Linked DNA regions of Homo sapiens: region 2 is linked to region 1. The links are contacts of gene promoters, found by promoter capture Hi-C in human tissues and cell types (Jung and others, 2019). All regions are on one chromosome and are shown on one strand. Each heading gives the region's core, a stretch centred on a gene start or on the middle of the fragment in contact. The rest is flanking DNA. Distances are from core to core; before and after follow the strand shown.

What was found. Contacts are between HindIII fragments. The study calls those that stand out against the background at their distance.
Region 2: a contact is called between a fragment that was not itself captured here and the fragment with the promoter of ZNF552 in region 1, in 1 of the 25 tissues and cell types used here (dorsolateral prefrontal cortex).

Annotation. Positions count from the first base shown.
Region 1 is chr19:57,813,123-57,816,473 of GRCh38, forward strand. ZNF552 (zinc finger protein 552) reads right to left here and starts at 1,791. Exons shown (of 3, transcript NM_024762.3): 1 at 1,589-1,791; 2 at 172-298. The coding sequence starts at 1,621. RefSeq lists an enhancer at 2,066-2,115. The HindIII fragment of the contact is 37,727 bases long and covers 1-3,351 here.
Region 2 is chr19:58,259,696-58,263,046 of GRCh38, forward strand. It overlaps ZNF544 (zinc finger protein 544), which reads left to right. Exons shown (of 7, transcript NM_014480.4): 7 at 1,156-3,351. The coding sequence ends at 3,059. All of the region lies in intron 2 of ZNF8-DT (ZNF8 divergent transcript), which reads right to left. Among named protein-coding and RNA genes, the nearest start is that of ZNF8-DT, 17 kb to the right of the region's middle. The HindIII fragment of the contact is 3,084 bases long and covers 161-3,244 here.

The DNA.
Region 1 (3,351 bases), core at 541-3,040:
GGGGCTGCTCCAAGAATGGAGAGGGCAGTATGCATACCTCAGTCCTACCAACCAAGAACTGAAGTAGGAAGCTGTGTCCATGCTCCTGACATGAGAAAGTCTTGCCAATAGAAAAAGAGGGGGAAAGACAGAGACTAGCTCAGGTCACAGGGGTGAGTGTGGGCAACTTACCCAGGGAGGACATAAGTGCCAGGTTCTCCAGCGTCACATCACGGTACAGGCATCTCTGAGCCTCACTAAGGAGATTCCATTCCTCCTGGGTAAATTTCACAGCCACGTCTTCAAAAGTCACTGTGCCCTGTTATGATGTTGACAGATGAAACCACAAACCACCCCTATGCTGAGGTATCACAATCCATCTCTCCCACACATCTACTCTCGCACATCCTCCTCTCAAGGTCCTCAAACATAGGAGAAACTAGGCCCACTGGTCATGGGGTACAGCCACCAACAACAATAGTTAGTTGAACAAATAGGTATCTGTGCGGTGGCTGTGATATAAGAGTCCACCCCCTCCTGACAGGCACTTCCCCTAGTATGGCCGAGGTCATGGAAAGCCCAATGTGGCACCTTCAGCACAGCAGAGATACCCTCTCTGAACGCACCTCATTCTTTTTTTTTTTTTTTTTTTTTTTTTTTTGATACGGAGTCTCGCTCTGTCACCCAGGGTGGAGTGCAATGGCGCGATCTCGGCTCACGCAACCTCCGCCTCCCGGGTTCAAGCGAGTCTGCTGCCTCAGTTTCCCAAGTAGCTGGGATTACAGGCATGCGCCACCACGCCTGGCTAATTTTGTATTTTTAGTAGAGACAGGGTTTCTCCATGGTTGGTCAGGCTGGTCTCTACCTCCGGACCAACCCGCCTAGGCCTCCCAAAGTGCTGGGATTACAGGAGTGAGCCACTGCACCCGGCCCCACCCTCCACTTTCTTGTATGCGTTCCTTAAATGCTTCTACAGCCATAAAGGCCTGAGGGAAGAGGCTGACTTTACAGGACTGTGTCCCTGATAGGATCTGGTAAGCTCAGGCCTCCCTGAACGCTTTTGTGTCCACGGAGCCAGGTGACCTTGGACTATTGTCTAACCTGCGTGTCTCAGCACAAAGTGTCATCTCTACCACCTATATGATCTACAAGGATTCAATCTCAAAGGGCCCCAACGTCATCCCCTCTCTACTCTGTTATTTATTTGGCCTTTAGGAAACTTTAAAAGCCTGGACTTTGATCCAGTCCCTTCTTTCTTGGAAATTCTCCTATTTCTAGTGTCCTCGCAATGATTTCACAGCCCCCAGCCTCCTTGCTTTTCCAGGAGGAGTTCCGCCTCACAGGTTGTTCCCTACAGGCGCCTGTGGACCCCAGGTTCCATCCTCCCGGATCCGTCCATCTCCAGGCCATTGCCCGCGCCCCTCCCTGTACCTGTCGCTCTCCCCACCGCATCCCACGGGTGTCTGAAACAGGGATCCCTCCCGAGAGCGCCTCAGTGTCCCGACGCCGGGTCCGGGTTGCAGAGCCGTAAACAGGTGCCGCTCCCTCGCTGCTTTAGGACTTGTGTGACTAGGAGGTGACCGGAGAGCACGGAAGGCGCCACAATTACCTGAACGGGGAACCTTAGCGCGGCCGCCGCCATGGGACCACGTGGGGTAAGCTGGGTTGAGAGCAGCGGGCGCCGTTAAAGAGCTGCAGAGTCACGTCTGTGCAAAGAGAAGAACGACTCTCGACCTCCTGGATCCAGTCACCACCACGGTCCCAACACAGCGCTCCAAGGACTCCCTAACGCCAATGGAAATGGTCGCTACTAAAGGGCGCCGGGAGTCCCGCCTCTACCTTACTTGCGCACACGGAAACGCCTTCAATGTGAACTCTCACTGGCTCTGCCGTGCTGTCATTTGACGCAGAGCTTTCTGGGTAATGTAGTTTCCCAGGTTCCAAGGCCGTAAAGAGAGAGATTCCCAGGGGCGCTTCGGAAGGAAAAGCCCAGCTCCACCTCCGGGGCCCTCAGGGAAGCCTCCTGACCCGCACGGTGGCGCGCGCCTGTAATCCCAAATTTTGAGAGGCTGAGGTGTCAGGACTGCTTGAGCCCAGGTGGTCCAGGCTGCACTGAGCTATGACTGCACCACTGCACTCCAGCCTGGGCGACAGAACCTGTCTCAAAAGAAAAAGAAATGTTAATTAAGCGTTTGTGCTGTTAAGGGAGGAGACCACCTCTCATATTGTTTTATGCCCAATTTCTGCCTCCAAAGAAACAAGTAAAAACTAAAAGGCAGAAATGAAATCCACAGGCAGACAGCCAGGTGCCAACCCTGGGCCTGGTTAAAGATCGACCCCTGACCAAACCGGTTATGTTATCTATGGATTCCAGACATTGTATGGAAAAGCATTGTGAAAATCCCTGTCCTGTTCTGTTCCGTTCTGATTACCACTGCATGCAGCCCCCAGTCGTGTACCCCCTGCTTGCTCAATCGATCACAAACCTCTCATGTGGACCCCCTTAGAGTTGTAAGCCCTTAAAAGGGACAGGAATTCCTCACTTGGGGAGCTTGGTAGTTGGAGATGTGAGTCTTGCCAAAGCTCCAGGCTGAATACAGCCCTGCGGCTTGTCCTGCTACATTTCTTGGTTCCCTGACTGGGAAGCCAGGTGATTAACAGATAGTCGAGGCAGCCCCTTAGGCAGCTTAGGCCTGCCCTGTGGAGCATCCCTACAGGGGACTCTGGCCAGCTTGAGGGACGCAGAACCTGAGAGCACTCCCGGGTAGGCAATTGCCCCAGTGGAACACCTCGCCAGAGTGGCGTGTGGCAGGCCCCCACAGAGGATCAATGCAGCGGCTGAACACTGGGAAGGAACAGGCACTTGGAGTCCGGACATCTGAAACTTGGTAAGACTAGTCTTTGGAACTTGCCCACTCCATTTGAGTGGAAGGGTGGCCTGATCACCCACGGCATGCCTGTACCGGCACTTTGGTTTTTGTTTTTGACTTGATTTGGATTGCTTGATACTTTCGTTTTGGTTTTGACCTGGCTTGGATTTCTGGATACTCTGATTTGGATTTTGATTCTGGTTTGGTGTAAACGGTAAAAGTGTATGTGTGCCCTTTTTACCTGTTCTTTGTTTTGTGGTGTGCGTGTGGTGTGAGCGTGGTGTTTTGTCTCAAAGAAGCATGGGTCAGGCACAAAGTAAGCCCACTTCACTAGGAACTATGTTGAAACATTTCAAGAAAGGATTTAAGGGAGATTACAGTGTTACTATGACACCAGGAAAACTTAGAACTTTGTGTGAAATAGACTGGCCAGCATTAGAGGTGGGTTGGTCATCAGAAGGAAGCCTGGACAGGTCCCTTGTTTGAAAGGTATTGTGTCCAG
Region 2 (3,351 bases), core at 453-2,952, 450 kb after region 1:
AGGAACACTTGTGATTACATTTAGAGCCCCCCTGGATAGTACAGAAAAAAAATCCCCATTTAAAAATTTTTAGCAGGGTGTGGTAGCAGGCACCTGTAATCCCAGCTACTCAGGAGGCTGAGGCAGGAGGATCACTTGAACCTGGGAGGTGGAGTTGCAGTTAGCCAAGATAATGCCACTTCACTTCAGCCTGGGCAACAGAGCCAGGCTCTGTCTCAAAAATAAACAAAACAAAATAAAATAAAAATACTAATCACAGAAGGGTACATTGGCTTGGCTGTAATCCCAGCACTTTGGGAGGCCAGTCGGGGAGGATCACAAGAGCCCAGGAGTTTGAGGCTGCAGTGAGCCATGATTGTGCTGTTATCCGGTCTGTTCAACAGAGCAAGATCCTGACTGTAGAAAACTAAGTAAATAATAATAATAAAATTCTAATCACATCTGGACAGTTCCTTTTTCCCAAAAGTTCACATTCACAGAGTCCAGGGGCTTAGAACATACATACTTTTTGCAATGGTTAATGGCTTTATATCCTGCAGACCCAGTTCATTCTGTGGATTTCTCTTTTTATCTTCACCTCCCTGCTTATTCTCTTTTTTGAGACAGGGTCTCACTCTCTCACCCAGACTGGAATGCAGTGGCCCGATCTTGGTTCACTGCAACCTCCACCTCCCAGGCTCAAGCGATTCTCCTGCCTCGGCCTCCCGAGGAGCTTAGACTACAGGCGCCCACCACCACACCTGGCTAATTTTTTTTTTATTTTTATTAGAGATGAGGTTTTACCATGTTGACCAAGCTGGTCTCTAACTCCTGACCTCAGGTGATCCACCTGCCTCAGCCTCCCAAAGTTCTGGGATTACAGGTGTGAGCCACTGCACCTGGCCCCTCCCTGCTTATTCTTATTCTTCTGCCCTCTATTTGGGGACTAGTGTTACTTAGTCACTTCTTTATTATGTTTGCTTGTATTTTGCACTTTACCACTGATACCATGTTTGCTGATCCATCCCTCCCTTTCACAGCCTGCATACGGATTACAGTTTGTAGTTTGGAAACAAACCAGAGACACTTCCATTAAACAGTTGTCTCCTTCATCTCCCCCTCCCCCTCCCCCTCTGATGCTTCTCCAGTAACTTAGGCATTTTGGATTTCTTTCAGACTGGAAAGCTACCCTTGAGGAGAATAGGTTGAATTCTGAAAAAGATCGAGCTAGGGAAGAACTATCCCACCACGTGGAAGTGTACAGGAGTGGACCGGAGGAGCCACCCTCTTTGGTATTAGGAAAAGTGCAAGATCAGAGCAACCAGTTAAGGGAACACCAGGAGAACTCCTTGAGGTTCATGGTACTCACCTCAGAGAGACTGTTTGCTCAAAGGGAACATTGTGAGCTTGAACTTGGGGGAGGTTATTCTCTACCTTCTACTTTAAGCCTTCTACCTACAACATTACCTACAAGTACAGGTTTCCCTAAGCCCAACTCACAAGTTAAAGAGTTGAAACAAAATTCAGCTTTCATTAATCATGAGAAAAATGGAGCAGATGGGAAGCACTGTGAGAGTCATCAGTGTGCTAGAGCTTTCTGTCAGAGTATTTACTTGAGTAAACTTGGAAACGTTGAAACAGGAAAGAAAAACCCTTATGAATATATTGTCAGTGGTGACTCTCTCAACTATGGTTCCTCCCTTTGTTTTCATGGTAGAACTTTTTCAGTGAAGAAAAGTGATGACTGTAAGGATTATGGAAACCTCTTCAGTCACAGTGTGTCTCTGAATGAACAGAAGCCAGTGCATTTTGGGAAAAGTCAGTATGAGTGTGATGAGTGCAGGGAAACCTGTTCTGAGAGTCTGTGCCTTGTACAAACAGAAAGAAGTGGCCCTGGAGAGACCCCCTTCAGATGTGAGGAACGCTGTGCTGCCTTCCCCATGGCCTCATCTTTTTCTGACTGTAACATCATTCAGACTACAGAGAAGCCATCTGTGTGTAATCAGTGTGGAAAATCTTTCAGCTGTTGTAAGCTCATACACCAGAGAACACACACTGGAGAAAAGCCCTTCGAATGTACTCAGTGTGGGAAATCTTTTAGCCAGAGCTATGACCTTGTCATACATCAGAGGACACACACTGGAGAGAAGCCCTATGAGTGTGACCTGTGTGGGAAATCCTTCACCCAGAGATCCAAACTTATTACACATCAGCGAATTCACACTGGAGAAAAACCGTATCAGTGTATTGAATGCAGAAAATCCTTCAGGTGGAACTCTAACCTCATTGTACATCAGAGAATTCATACTGGAGAGAAACCGTATGAGTGCACTCACTGTGGAAAGTCCTTCAGCCAAAGCTATGAGTTAGTTACACATAAAAGAACGCACACTGGAGAAAAACCCTTCAAATGTACTCAGTGTGGGAAATCTTTCAGCCAGAAGTATGACCTTGTTGTACATCAGAGGACACACACTGGAGAGAAGCCCTATGAGTGCAACCTGTGTGGGAAATCCTTCTCCCAGAGTTCCAAACTTATTACGCATCAGCGAATTCACACTGGAGAAAAACCGTATCAGTGTATTGAATGTGGGAAATCCTTCAGATGGAACTCTAACCTCGTCATACATCAGAGAATTCATACTGGAGAGAAACCGTACGATTGCACTCACTGTGGAAAGTCCTTCAGCCAAAGCTATCAGTTAGTTGCACATAAAAGAACTCACACTGGAGAAAAGCCCTATGAATGTAACGAGTGTGGAAAAGCCTTCAATCGAAGCACTCAGCTCATCAGGCATCTGCAAATTCACACTGGGGAGAAGCCGTACAAATGCAATCAGTGCAATAAAGCCTTTGCAAGGAGCTCCTACCTTGTGATGCATCAGAGAACTCACACTGGTGAGAAACCTTTTGAGTGTAGTCAGTGTGGGAAAGCCTTTTCAGGGAGCTCTAACCTTCTTTCCCATCACAGAATTCATTCTGGAGAGAAACCCTATGAATGTAGTGACTGTGGGAAATCCTTCCGGCAGCAATCTCAACTTGTAGTGCATCGGCGGACACATACTGGAGAGAAACCTTAGGAGTGCAGTCATTGTGGGAAAGCTTTCATCCAGAGGTCTCCCCTCATCATGCACCAGAGGACGCATGTCGGTGGGAAGAGCTATCAGTGTGACGTGTATTAAGCCAGCGGTTGTGACTCATTGAACATCAGAGGACATATCCTGGAGAAAAGCCCTACGAATGCATTGATTGTGGGAAAGCCTTCAATGATCGCTCAACCCTTAGTAAACACGAGAGGACACACACTGGAGGCAAACCCTATGAATGTGACCATTGCGAGAAAGCCTTTAGCCAACGGTGTCAACTTACTAG